Regions from separate parts of the Homo sapiens genome. Here regions 1, 3, 4 and 5 are each linked to region 2. Evidence: promoter capture Hi-C in 16 types of primary human blood cells and fetal thymus (Javierre and others, 2016). All regions are on one chromosome and are shown on one strand. Each heading gives the region's core, a stretch centred on a gene start or on the middle of the fragment in contact. The rest is flanking DNA. Distances are from core to core; before and after follow the strand shown. Region 1 overlaps ATP8B1-AS1 (ATP8B1 antisense RNA 1). Region 2 holds the start of WDR7 (WD repeat domain 7). Region 3 holds the start of LINC01415 (long intergenic non-protein coding RNA 1415). Region 4 overlaps FECH (ferrochelatase). Region 5 overlaps NARS1 (asparaginyl-tRNA synthetase 1).

What was found. Contacts are between HindIII fragments. The CHiCAGO score rates a contact against its expected background, and 5 or more counts as called.
Region 1: a fragment that was not itself captured here is called in contact with the fragment with the promoter of WDR7 in region 2 in 2 of 17 cell types (total CD8 T cells and naive CD4 T cells); the score reaches 7.2 in total CD8 T cells.
Region 3: a fragment that was not itself captured here is called in contact with the fragment with the promoter of WDR7 in region 2 in 2 of 17 cell types (monocytes and total B cells); the score reaches 7.4 in monocytes.
Region 4: a contact is called between a fragment that was not itself captured here and the fragment with the promoter of WDR7 in region 2, in 7 of 17 cell types (naive CD4 T cells, total CD4 T cells, activated CD4 T cells and 4 more). The highest score is 9.5, in naive CD4 T cells.
Region 5: a fragment that was not itself captured here is called in contact with the fragment with the promoter of WDR7 in region 2 in 4 of 17 cell types (total CD8 T cells, total CD4 T cells, non-activated CD4 T cells and 1 more); the score reaches 8.1 in total CD8 T cells.

The regions. Positions count from the first base shown.
Region 1 is chr18:57,638,198-57,640,932 of GRCh38, reverse strand. All of the region lies in intron 1 of ATP8B1-AS1 (ATP8B1 antisense RNA 1), which reads right to left. Among named protein-coding and RNA genes, the nearest start is that of ATP8B1-AS1, 9.2 kb to the right of the region's middle. The HindIII fragment of the contact is 5,643 bases long and covers 1-2,735 here.
Region 2 is chr18:56,649,946-56,652,645 of GRCh38, reverse strand. It overlaps WDR7 (WD repeat domain 7), which reads right to left and starts at 1,287. Exons shown (of 28, transcript NM_015285.3): 1 at 1,070-1,287. RefSeq lists an enhancer at 1,167-1,556. The HindIII fragment of the contact is 1,105 bases long and covers 1,055-2,159 here.
Region 3 is chr18:55,779,081-55,781,828 of GRCh38, reverse strand. LINC01415 (long intergenic non-protein coding RNA 1415) reads left to right here and starts at 104. Exons shown (of 2, transcript NR_145452.1): 1 at 104-874; 2 at 1,799-2,748. The region is part of intron 2 of LOC105372130 (a long non-coding RNA gene); the gene reads right to left. The HindIII fragment of the contact is 4,279 bases long and covers 1-2,748 here.
Region 4 is chr18:57,567,219-57,569,965 of GRCh38, reverse strand. All of the region lies in intron 4 of FECH (ferrochelatase), which reads left to right. Among named protein-coding and RNA genes, the nearest start is that of FECH, 18 kb to the left of the region's middle. The HindIII fragment of the contact is 5,994 bases long and covers 1-2,747 here.
Region 5 is chr18:57,601,900-57,604,599 of GRCh38, reverse strand. NARS1 (asparaginyl-tRNA synthetase 1) reads left to right here. Exons shown (of 14, transcript NM_004539.4): 12 at 1,657-1,788; 13 at 2,114-2,245. Among named protein-coding and RNA genes, the nearest start is that of FECH, 17 kb to the right of the region's middle. RefSeq lists an enhancer at 429-723. The HindIII fragment of the contact is 8,142 bases long and covers 1-2,700 here.

The sequences.
Region 1 (2,735 bases), core at 235-2,734, 990 kb before region 2:
GAACAGAACAGAAAAATCCAGAAATAGCCTCAAACACGTGAACATTTACTATATAAAGTGGCATCAAAGGTGGGTGGGGGGAAAGATGGACTGGTGTTGAGACAACAGGGAAACAAATTAGATATCATGCACTGTAGTAGAATAGGCTCCAAATAATGAAGAGATTTCAATGTAAAAGAAAAAAAAACTCATCAAAGTATTTGAAGAAAATCACGAGGAAATTCAAATACTGGAGTGGGGAAAGACTTTCTAATTAAGACTAAAAATCTAAAGCCTCAAAGGAAAGGCTAGTAATTTCAAATGCATAAATATTTTTAAAACCTCCATTATGGCAAAAAAAAAAAAAAGAAAAAGAAAAAAGGTATAAGCAAAGATGGCAAAATGGAGAAAAAGTGTGCGAGTCTTAGTTCAGGCTGCTATGACAAAATACCACAAACTGCGTGGTTTATATAAGCAACAGAAATTTTTTCTCACAGTTCTGGCAGAAGCTAGGAACTCTTAGGTCAAGGGGCTGACAGATTTGGTGCCTACTGAGGAAATGCTTTCTGGTTCACAAATGGTGCCTTCTGACTGTGTCTTTACGTGGTGGAAGGGGCCAACAAGCTCCTTCAGGACTATTTTATAAAGACATAATCCCTCCTGATTTAATCACCTCTGAATGTCTCCACCTCCTAGTATCACCTTGGAGGTTAGGATTTCAGCATATGAATTTTAAGGGGGCACAAACCTTCAGACCATAGCAGCCAAGGTTGTGAAAACAAAAAGTCAGAAAAAAGGAAATACAATGGGGCGGGGTGCGGTGGCTCATCCCTGTAATCCCAGCACTTTGGAAGGCCAGGGTGGGCGTATCACTTGAGGCCAGGAGTTTGAGACCAGCCAGGCCAACATGGTGAAACCCTGTCTCCATTAAAAATACAAAAATTAGCTGGGTGTATAACTATAGTGCCAGCTACGAGGGAGGCTGAGGCAGGAGAATCACTTGAACCTAGGAGGCGGAGGTTGCAGTGATTTGAGATTGCACCACTGCACTCCAGCCTGGGAAACAGAGCCAGACTCTGTCTCAAAAAAAGAAATACAGCTGGGCGCGGTGGCTCACGCCTGTAATCCCAGCACTTTGGGAGGCTGAGGCAGGCGGATCACGAGGTCAGGAAATCGAGACCATCCTGGCTAACACGGTGAAACCCTGTCAAGGTGTGGTGGCGGGTGCCTGTAGTCCCAGCTACTCGGGAGGCTGAGGCAGGAGAATCGCGTGAACCCGGAAGGCGGAGCTTGCAGTGAGCTGAGATTGCGCCACTACACTCCAGCCCAGGCAACAGAGCGAGACTCCATCTCAAAAAAAAAAAAAAAAAAAAGAAAGAAATACAAATGGCTCTTCAACACATGAAACAATGTTTAAACTTACCTGAAATAAAGAAGTGAAAATCAAAATGATTTTGATAGGCCATCTTCACCTATTAATTTGGCAAAAACAAGAAAGTTTGGTAATGCACTGTTAAGGCTATGGCAAAACAAGCCTTCTAATGTATTAATGAAAAGTATATAAATTATGAAACTCTAGGAAAGGATTTAGCCATAACCATTAATTTTTTTTTTTTGAGATGGAGTTTAGCTCTGTCACCTAGGCTGGAGTGCAGTGGCGCAGTCTCAGCTCACTGCAACCTCTGCCCCCCAGGTTCAAGCTATTCTCCTGCCTCAGCCTCCCGAGTAGCTGGGACTACAGGCGGGTGCCACCACACTCGGCTAATTTTTTGTATATTTTTTTAGTAGAGATGGGGTTTCACCGTGTTAGCCAGGATGGTCTCAATCTCCTGACCTTGTGATCCGCTCGCCTCAGCCTCCCAAAATGCTGGGATTACAGGCGTGAGCCACCGCACCTGGCCCTTGCCAGTAAAATGTTAAATGTATATTCCCTTTGACCTGGCAATCACACTTCTCAAATTCATCCTGCAGATATATTTGCCCACAAGGGAAATGACACGTACAGTGATTATACTGCAGCACTGTTTGTAATAGCAAAATATCAGCAGTAAGCTAGCAATCCATCAGTTTCACTACAGTTAAATGAAATAAGTTCCATCCCAACAAAAGGATACAATGAAACTATAATGGGAGCTAAGGGAGAAGAATGAAAGATCTCCATTCATTGTGGAGTGTGAAGAGCCAGGTGCAGAACTGTGTGTATGGGGACAACCTTTCATATAAAAAAGAAACAAGAGGAGGCAATTAAATTGATGTGTAGAGTCAATGCAATTCCAATTGAAATCCCATGAGATTCTTTTTTTGGTAAAAATTGATAAGCTGATTCTAAAATTCATCTGGAAATGCAAAGGACCTAAAATAGCCAAAATAACTCTGCAGAAGAAAAACAAAGTTGGAGGAAGAACACTACTTGATTTTGAAAGTTGTTACCAGCATGGGCTGAAGAACGACTAGTTAAGTACTATGCTGACTGCCTGGGGGACAGGATCGCTGGGACCTCAAGCCTCAGAGTCATGCGATTTACCCATGCAACAAAGCTGCACATATACCCTTTAGTCTATAATAAAAGTCAAAATTTTAAAAATAAAATAAATGTGAAATTAGGGCCAAAAAAGAGAAAATTGTTATAAAGCTATAGCAATCAAAACAGCATAGTATTGGCTTAAAGAGGGCAGATAGATCAATGGAACCTAATAGAGTCCATAAATAAATCCATACATCAATGGACAACTGATATTGAACAAGGTTACAAAAGC
Region 2 (2,700 bases), core at 38-2,537:
GTTTTCCCAATTTATAATAACTAATATGTATTGTTCTGGATGGAACTAGACAGTTTTTTATTCTTTGTAATAATGAGGGCATTTCAACACATTATGTTCACTTTTAAGCTGACCTTCATACAGCCACGAGTTTGTTTATAAAGCAAGAAGCAGAGTCAAACTAAAATTTTTGTTTTACAAAATGTCAAAAACTCAGTTAATTTCTTTCATACAACAGGCAATTCCTGCAACCTTGCCCATAAAATCCTAAGACATAAACACCTGAAAGAGTCAGTTTGCCTTTTTTTGTCTCATGGCAAATATTACAGTGAGAGGAAGCTATAGCTGCCACTGACCGAACCCTAAATTCAGCAGCATCAACAATATCAATGCAGCCTGTCATGCGACGGTAGGTTCCCTAGTTTCAGACTATCTAACCCAGCAAATTCTGCCTCAAAAAGTGACATACTAAGTGGGTAAAAAACATAAAACAGCAATTTTTGAATCAAAGTTAGGGTAGTGCTGACTTCAAACATAGCTTCAGAACGCTGGGACCCATCACTAAGTGAATGGGAGTGACTGGCATCCGCTCAGACAAGTACTAGGGCAAAGGGATAAGAACTGGCAGATGGCATCTCAAAAATGAAATTCTAACAGTGGTGTCAGTACCTTGGGCATGGGCAAAAATAGTACCAACAGGAAAGGAAAGACTATATGAACCCCAAAAGCAAGCACATCGCCCAAAATTGCTGTCAATAACCACCAACGATCATCACCAATCACCTGATCCCGTTTAGATTGCACCTGGGAACCAGGCAGTCCCACCTCAAGACCAAAGCAACTGTCACAAGTAGCAAATATCACTCACCAGGCAAGGGAGCCACAAAGACCCCCGGCTGGCCCCCACGCTCTTGGTAACGGCGCCTACTTTTGGGCCCGACCTGCAGGCTTGCAGCCGCAGCGATCTGACAGCTAGCACCGCCCCCGGCTAGAGCGGGTTTGTGACCTTTGACCCCTGACCCCTGACCTCCACGGTGCAGGAACATCCCGCCCTGTGGTTTCCCATGGAGAAGCTTGAAAGCCCCCTTACCTGTCACAGCTTCATCTCATGCCGCGATGTAGCCTATCAGACCGCCGGTGGGCGCCCCAGCCAAGGAGGACAAGGATAGGGCGGAACTACGGAGGATGCGGGGTGCGTAGATCCTGCTGGGATAATCCGTGGGGCGGCAAGCGCTATACAGCCGCCGTCTCCCCAGTGATACTGCAAGGTGCCGGTGCCGCCGCCGCCGCCACTGCAGTAAATCAGCTGACACCAGCCCCAACTGCCGTGACTTTCGCTGCAACTGTCGCAAAAATGAGGGGGCGGGAAAGACTCACCATTTCCCTACTTGCAAGGCCTAAGCCGGCGCCGAGAGAGCCAGCCGCGTTACGATGGAGACCGAAAGTGGAGAAAAGGCCAGCTGTGGGCAAGGAGTGCACGGCCGCCATCTTGGTTGTGGGAAGTCTCGTCTAGGCTGTCCTCTCTCCAGTTGGGAGGACCAAGATGGAGCGAAGGATGAAGTAGCAAGTGCACGTCTTTCTTGGGAGCAGGATGTTGCGCAAGTTTACACTTCTGACCCCATCACACTGCTTCCCACTGAGATGCAAGAGGTAGGGAATTCCCTAAACACTGGAAAGTATGTTGGATGCTGGAAAGCTAAAAAGAATGACAAATGTCCCCCAAGATAGATAAGCTATAGTATAGTGCAGGATGAGAAATGCCAAATAAGGAGCAAGGAAGAAAAGAGATGAATTATTTCTAGGTTGGGGTAAGGAAGGATAATCACATTAGGTCATATGGAAGTCTAGAAAAATTGGTCAGATTTGGAATAATAATTGGGAAAGGAAAACAACTTTGTCACCAGCATTGAAATGTAAAACATGAATATATGCAATAAATAGAAAGTTAAATTTGGAAGAAATACAAGGGACGTGAAGTAGGTGAAGTGGGAAAATGTGGTATCAGGGCTTAGCTGTTTCTGCTCCGTGAGCGGCTCCTTTAACAGGCAGTCTATGCCCTGGAGCTCTCTTGTGGGTTGATAGAGACTTCATCACATTCGGCCTAGACCAGGTAATAAAAAAGTAACATGGAAAAATAGAATAATGTAGATAACAAGAGGCTTTTAGTGGCCATATAAGCTTTTTGGTCTTTATTCCAAAGACAATGAAAAGTAATTGAAGACTTTTGACTAATAAATAGTGTAGCACTTTTCCTAACCACATGGTATTCAGGTTTTTAAAATTGCTTTACAACAAATTATCACAGTCTTAGTGTCTTAGTGGCTTAAAGCAACACATATGTATTGCCTCACATTCCATGGGCAAGGAGGTCAGGAACAGGTTAGCTGAGTCCTGTGCTCATGCTCTCACAAGGCTACAAGTGGATGTCAGCCAAACTGCAATTCTCATCTGGAGGCTCAACTAGGGAAGAATCTGATTCCAAACTCCTGTCAGCTCATTCAGTTCCTTGTGGCTGTCTGACTAGGGGCCCTGGCTTCTTACTGGCTCTGAACTGGAAGTGGCCATCAGGTCCTAGCAGCCACCCACAGTTCCTTACCACATGGGCCTTACTAAAGGCTCTCTCGCAACATGGCAGCATACTCCTTCAAAGCTAGCAAGGAGAATCTCTCTACTGAGCACAAGAAAGGAGTCACACAGATATAGATACAGCCATGGATATGG
Region 3 (2,748 bases), core at 108-2,607, 870 kb after region 2:
ACACATCTTCCTTCTTTTTCTCCCCCTCTTACAGAAGGTTGGCTCTTGTATCCTAGCAAAAGGGTGGGTCAAAAACAACAACATGCATGAAATGATTCAGAAAGGTAAACAAAGGCAATTCGTTCTGTAAAAATACTCTAGATTCTTTCTGAGGACTGGGCACTACACTGCTCATAGTGGGCACCTAAAGTCAGCATTCAGCCAACTCAGCGGGCTTTAAGATGGAGACTCTTAAACCTCCTGCATCAAAAAGACATAAGGGAATGTCCCTGAGAAGAGCCTGTGTCTCCTTTGAAGAGAGAGAGAGAGATTGATTCTGCCTCCTTGCAATTCGAACCGGCATTTTCCAGAACACTCCAATTTGAATCACAGTGGAGGGTCATGGGAGGGATTTGGCACAGGGGAGTCTTGGGTCTTTGGTTTTCCACATTGATCAATGGGATTGATTTTTTCTGTTTTTGTTTTTGTTTTAAAAGAAGAGAATTAGTTCCTTTTTCTGTCTCCAGGATTGAAAACATGAAGGCAAAGAAGAGAAACTCACAATATGTCATTAACTTTGGGTTATCAATATTAGTGGAAAGAATCAATGGTGCAAAGAATCCTAAAGGACTAGATAATCCGCATATTCGACTTCCTGATTATGTGTTACTGACACTAACATTTCAGAGTGTGGAGACCCTGCCCCATCTGGGGAGAGGGAGAGACAAAGACCCCCTGCTTCTGGTACTTGATTCACACATAATGCCCTCCATTTACTGCTTTCAAGAAATAACCTGTTTCTAATCTTAAATTTCAATCTACTGATCACAAAATCATAGAGATCTTAGCCTTGAAAGAGACTTCATGAGACCATGTGACCAACTTTCTGACGCAGGTGAGATATCATTGTTTTGCATTTTATTTTATAGAGGAAGTCACTGAGATTCAGAAAGGAAAATTAAAGAGGCCGGGTCTCAGTTGAGTGATTTTTCTCCGTAGATTAAAAAATCCATTCAGTATCCAGTTCCCCTTCCCCACCTACTCCTCCTAATAAGGCTGTGAATAGCGTTTTTTATATCCCAAGTCTAAACTTTGAGCCATTGGCAACCCTTAGGAGGAAAGAGATGAATCACAAGGGATTGTGGAATCATTAGAAATTGAGGTAGCTGAACATCTGGGGGAACGCTCGGCTTGATTCAAAACTCTCATCAAATGTGGTTTTCTCCTGGGTGGGAGGCCGCTGAGCCGCAGGGAAGCTGCGGGGCCAGCTGAGTAGCCGGCGGCCTGTTGGGTCCCCAGTGTCGCGCGACAGCACGACCCGAGACAAGGCACCTGGGGCTGGTGCCAGGCAGAGGCCCCGCGTTGCGTGGCCGGCGGCAACAGCGCCTGGCGGTCGGTTCCGGGCGGGGCTGCAGGCGCCGGGTTCCCGCGGCCGCGAGGCGGGGCTGGAGGGCGCTGCGGGCTGCGCGGAGGCTGCGGGAAGCGCGGGGAGCACGCGGAGCCCGACTAGCAGGGAGATCGCGTCGCGCCGGGCACAGGCACGGGACCCGCGCTCTAGGAGGGCGCAGCGAGAGGCGCACTGCGCACCCAGGGGCTGCGGTCCCGGCCGCCGTGCGGTGACAAGCTGACTCCCCGCCGCCGCCCAGCCAAGTCCGCGCGGGGTGCTGGCGGAGATGTCGCATGGGAGGCTTCTTCAACGAGGTGCAAATCCAAGCCACCTCGCCTGAGTGAATGAAGGGACGGCGCGGGGCGCGGGTGGGGTTCACCGTGACAAAAGCCCAGTACCTGGTTCAAACTTTTTTTTTTTTTTTGCCCGCAGGATTAGAACATCCGACATTAAAATGTCTCAGTGCAGCAGAATTTCCCAGCGACTTCGGTGGCGGGAGAGCAGCACCTCTCAGGCACAGCTGTGCGCATCCCTCGGGCCCCACCGACCGCACCATCTGACCGCGGGAAACGAAATCTGAGCTCAGGAATTTGAACTGCCCCACGCACGTTCGTTCCCGGATAAATCTCCTAGAGGACCGTGATTTTTCCACTTAGAGATTATTTAGGGAGATGTCCTGGATGGGACAAGTAGACAAATGGCGGCCCGAGGAAAATGCAGGAAACTCTACATTGTAGACGCTTAAGCACCAACTGTCTGGGCCCCGGGGCAGGGAACGGGAGACATTATCCACCGGAAACATCACACCCCCGGGGCTCCTGGCATTTTCTACATCAGTGAATGTGCCAGCGAAGAAGAGTGTGGGGAAATTTTCTGAACATAGAATTCATATTCCTGAAACGTTAAGTCGTGAAGTGGGTGCTTCAGCTGTCCCCCAGCTTTAGGATTTTAACCCAGCTTTGGTTTTGATCACCGAGAGTTATTCCTTATAATCAAATCAGCAAAAGCGTTCAATTACCTATTACTGGTTGAGAAAGATTCCGTTCCCCCAGCTCATTGTATCGGTTCTTGGACCCAAGATGTTAATTATCGGCCAGGCATTCACAGGGGGTTAATATGGCCCCCCTCGACACCTTGCCTCGTACCAGAGACACCAAAAGCTGCCGCTGAGGGATAATAGAGAATGGGAAAAGCTGGTCATGAAAAACCTCTTTTATTCTTACTTGCAAGCTACCCTTTTGACATTCTTTTTTTAACACTAAATGGAGATTACTGAATTGATAACTTTTGGGTTTTCTCTGTCACACTGGGGTTTTTTTCCCCCCGTTTGTTTGTAAGGTTTTTTTGGTTTTGGTTTTGGTTTTGGGGGGAGGGGAAGGGGG
Region 4 (2,747 bases), core at 43-2,542, 920 kb before region 2:
GCTATTTGTGAGGCTGAGGTGGAAGGATCGCTTGAGCCAGGGAGGTTGAAGCTGCAGTGAGCCATGATCATGCCATTGCATTCCAGCCTGGGAAACAAAGTGAGACCCTGTCTCAAAAAAAAAAAAAAGGTTTTATTATGAACCAGATTTGCAATTGCTATGCTGTCTCTCGTGGGAAGAGGAGGCAGAAAGGTTCCCATTTTTCCTGTTTTTATGTTACTGTAGTACCCATCATTATAAAGAGCCCTAGTGAGCATGGGGGTGGGGCACACCCCAGCAGTTTGGGAGGCTGAAGCAGAAGGATTGCTTGAGCCCAGGAGTTAAAGCCCTGGTAGAGTTGTCAGACTTGAAAAAGCAATACAGACAGGAGGGCATCCTTCCCGCCACCTCCTGTCTCCGGTGAGGCTGCTGGGGTACCTCTTCATCTCCTTCTCATTCCTCTTCCCTTCTGATCCTTTCTTTCCTATATAGTTGTAAAGTTTACTTTTGAACTATGTCTATTGATTTATTTCTATTAAGAAAAATTCTCTTTAGGCCAGAAAATGTGATGATTGCAAACAGATAAACATGTTTCATGCTGTCGTTTTTTAGGGAAGTGGTTGTTGCTTGGTAGCCAGTGTGGACGTTTTGAGACTTGCACTGGTTTCATAGAATTGACCAGTTAACTAAGACAGTGAGTTATATCAGGAAATGGTTTCATGTAGTTACATTGCATTGCAGAAATGTAGAGAATAGATACAGAAATAGATGAGAAGTGTAATCATGTGATGGAAAGTCTAAATCTCAAATATGCTTTGCAAATTATAGTTTAACTGTTTAGCTTGTAACTGCTTTTAGTGAAGCTATAAGTAAGGGATGCTCATGAAATAATTCTGTTCTTTCCCGGATGCAGCGTGGATAGGCGTATGGGTTCCTTTCTCTGATGGTGTTGGCTTCCCTGCTCTGGTTCAGGCAGTTTACTTACTTAACTAAGCCTCAGCTAGAAAATGGGGATGGTAACAGAACTCAACTCTTAGATCCTTGTGAAAATTAAATGCGATAATCCTGAGAGGCATTAACATGACAAAAGTTCAATATACGTGAGCTTTTTAATTCATCATTGGCACAGGGTTCATGATCTGATACAAAGTAAGCATTTGCTACATATTTCAAACTTTTCTTTCAAAAAATCATGTACAAATCGGACATTTGAACTATTGTACATGCTAAATTAATGAAGTTTTTGCTGTTTAAAAATCTAGTTTCTCTGTCTTTTAGTAGTTCTTGCTGAAGACTGTTCATTGAACAGCTGCTCTGAGGGTACGTAAGCTAGGCCAGTGAGTGATGTGTTTTGGGCTCACTCTGGCCAGATCTGCCCACGAGATGTGGCACTGGTTAACATCGGAGAGGCTCCTTCTCATCCCTGCATCCTTCCAGGGACAGCCAGCTGCATTGTGAAACCCACCCTGATGGACACGGGTCCTTCATGAACACTGTTTGTTGGTTCCTCAGGATATGCCCAGTTGGAGAGTACCTTGCTGCTTTTTCTCCAATATGTGTTTACAGGTTGTCTTTAGAAAGCATTTAGAAAACATTATCAGTTCTTTCCAGGGTATTTTACTCTGTCTCACTTTAAAATGTGGCCACCTGCCCTTGTCTTTATCTGCAAGGGCAGCCTTTCTACCTCTTAGTATGCATGATTTGAGGAACTCCCAGACCCTAGGCATTTAGACCGTAACCTTCAGATACTGGACAGGTGAAAAGAAAATGCGAGAAGCCGGTTGACCTGCAGCACTGGGGATGTCATTCTGATCATCGTATTGTTTCAAAGTAGAATCGAAAGCAGTTTCTACTTGCTTGCTAAACCTCAGCTCAAATCACCAAGAGTTGCTTCAAGGGATTTGATGGTATTGTAATAGTTGGCGGTTTTTAGCACAAAGCACATAATCTTTGAACAATCAGTCATTTGGAGTTTGCTTATGGGATCATGTCCTGTGATATGTTTTAACTGCTAGTGACCATTTTATGCAAGGCAGCACGAAATTGGTGGCCGGAAAATGGACAGAGCGCTAAAAATGATCTAGTTTTACTTCCTTCTTCTTTTTTGCAGTACCCAACCAGAGAATACTGAGTCCGACCAGCCTTTCTGTGCACACATGTGCTTCTCTCGCCTAATGGCATTCTGCTTCTCCCTTGGGAATGTGTTCCCCTGGCTCTTAGCTCTCTGGGTCAAGTTAGGAGGAATGTCGTCCTTGTATATATCTAGGTATAAATGAGATAAACTCCCGTCTTTTCCTTCACTTTAACCTAAATGTTTCTTGTGGCAATTTATGTCACATTCATAGTTGCAGCCCCTGCTAATGCTTTGGACAGTAACATTATCATGGTCTTATTATTTATTACCTGACACTCATGTAGTGATTCTCACTATCATCCCTGAGTGTAAGTTATGTGTAATCCTATGAAAAGGCAAGGAAACAAGACTAAGTAAGTTTAGGAAACTTGTAGTTTTATGACTTTATACATGCTTAAACAATTATGTGGTGTGGATGTTTTTGAACTACAAGAAAGGAAGATGCGGGAGGATAAAGAAGATAGAAGAGGGTATTCGTGAAAGGACAGGGAAGGGACAGGGAAAGAACATGAGGATATACAGCAGGCATGGGCCATTTAGGTACCAAGAACAATGGCTTTCAATCCCATGTGGCACCTCCAAAGTAAGCACTGTTTTATATGTGTAATGAGGAGAATCATTTTAATCATTTGTT
Region 5 (2,700 bases), core at 147-2,646, 950 kb before region 2:
CAAGACTATGCTAGGCCCTCTTTCCTGTGCATTTAACCATTACTTACATAATATTTGCACATCTAATTGTTTTACAGTTGAAATGTGTGTAGATGCTGCTAACTAGTTTTGGGTTTTAGAAGGAATTAATAGGTGAAACAATATACTGGGTCTATGTAAAGCACTCTTGTTTCTGTGAATTCAGTTTGGTTTTTTGGTTTTTTTTTTTTAAAGAGATGGAGGTATTGCTGTGTTGACTGGGCTGGTCTCAAACTCCTGGCCTCGAGCAGTCCTCTCACCTCGGCCTCCCGAGTGTTGAGATTATAGGCATGAGCCACACTGTGCCCAGCCTATGAATTCAGTTTATGATGTATAATGACAAAATTTTGTATTGAGAACTTGCATACTTTTAGTGTTCCTAATACTTAGTAAAATAGTGTAGTTGAGTGGAAAGAACACAAGCTGTGGAGTCAGAAGGCCCCCCAGGTGGGCTTAGCTCCCACCTCTTTTCTTTTGTGCTGTGTAACTGAAGACCAGTGACCCCCTCTCAGGTTCCTTATCTCTACCTTGGAAGTAACATCTGTTTTGCAAGATTGTGGGGACTACCGGAGCTAAATGCCTAGGCAGGACAATGGCAGGGGGAGCCTGTCAGCATTTACTATACATTGCTACTGTTCCACACACATGAGGACACTAGAGTGGATACATGACCCTCAGGCTTTGGGGGGTATGAAATAAGACCTGTTTTCCCCTAACTAAATCTTATGCAGAACCCCGCTGTGTAAAGCAGATGCAAGCTGAGAGACTAGAGCTCTCCCACTCATCTCCTGTTACCTCTCGGCGTCTCCGAGGACGCAAGGGCTCCAGAGCCTGGAGCTTGAAAACAGGTGTGCTAGGTGATTGCTACCTCCATTTCACTTCTTCATTAAACAAATCTATGAGTCTTCTCCAGTTCTCTCAATCCATTTTTACTGGGACGAGAGTTGTCAGTTTTAACTTCTGTGTTAACTTTAATTTATGTGTGGTATAGAAGGATGTTTTGAGAGAGAAACTGATGCGCTTAAGTCATCATCTAACATTGTTTGGGTAACTATTCCAGGTGTGCTTACACTTACCAGTTTGACATTGGTTATTTGTCTTATGATTGTGTCTGTCATCGAAGGCATAACTGATTGATTACAACAGGAAAGAAGGGTAGATAACAGGAGAGTTTAAAGATAAGTGTCATTAGTAATATACTCTGTGTGTAGATCAATGATGTTCTGGAGCATTCATGATTACCGTATGCCTTACGGGACTAAGTGGACCTCATTTGCTTCAGAGCTAGACAAAACGGGCCACTGAGAAAAATACTGAGCTGTGTCTAGTCACAGCTTGGGGCTGGCTTTTGTTTTTGTTTTTTTTTTTATTTTCCTTCATCAAACAGCATGGTGCTTGAGATATGCTGTAAAGGGAGACAGATCTTTTATGCTTCATTAAATAACTGAGTTTTAAGAATATGTTTATTTCTTTTTGAAAGAAATTATTCTTTACACAAATGTGTATGGGTTAAGGGTAGGTGTGTATCCTCTACTCTGTTGAATTGATAGGAGGAAGGACTGGTACAGGGTGAAGGAGCTGCTTCTGTCTTGTTGCGATCCAAGTTGTAAATGTTAATGAAGTCTTGTTTGACCTCAGGATATCCCAGAAGCTCCTGAGAGACTGATGACAGACACCATTAATGAACCAATCTTGCTGTGTCGATTTCCTGTGGAGATCAAGTCCTTCTACATGCAGCGATGTCCTGAGGATTCCCGTCTTACTGAATCTGTCAGTTTCTGTTTCAAAGAGTATTAATAATTTTGCTTTTTAAGGGGGTGGGGACTGTCATCTGGAATCAGGTACAGCTCATGCCAAATATTTCATTCTCTATCTAGAATAACAATATTTAAAGACGTTGGGTTTTTTCACCCTCCCCTGATTGAAGTTGACATGCTTTGTTAAATTAGAGAAATGTAAACATTTGAATATTACATGATCATAGTGGCTCCTTTAGCCCTTGGAGCTTAATTGTAATTTTCATTTAAACTCTAGGGCAGTGCTGTGTCTGATCGCTTGATAGTAATTGTGTATCTTCTTTCACTTATATTTAAAGGTCGACGTGTTGATGCCCAATGTTGGTGAGATTGTGGGAGGCTCAATGCGTATCTTTGATAGTGAAGAAATACTGGCAGGTTATAAAAGGGAAGGGATTGACCCCACTCCCTATTACTGGTATACGGATCAGGTAAAACCAATTTTTTAAGTACTCAACATTTTTTTCCACTGTAATCGTTCTGTATATATTGAAATTTTTAAAAGGGGAGAATTCAGGGTAGTACTTTGGTATTTGAATGAGCTATATTCAGTTTGCAGGTTATAATGTGGTGTGTGAATATTGCCAGCTTTGTTTTGGCCAAGTTATATGTTAATTTCATTTGAAAACCTGTTTAACGGCCGGCTTGTTGATTGCAACTGAGTTTTAAAAAATTGATCCTACCAGTATCTAGTACCCTTCTTCATTTTCCTCTTATAAATAGACATTGACTTATTTTAAAAGTTTTTAAAAATCTCTTCTTTCCAGGGTAGTACTTATTCCCTGGTTGATTTTTTCATACCAAATTATTTCTTTATGCATGGTTCATGAAGGCATAGAGATTAAGTGCTGGGATTACAGGCACGAGCCACTGAATCTGGCCATAG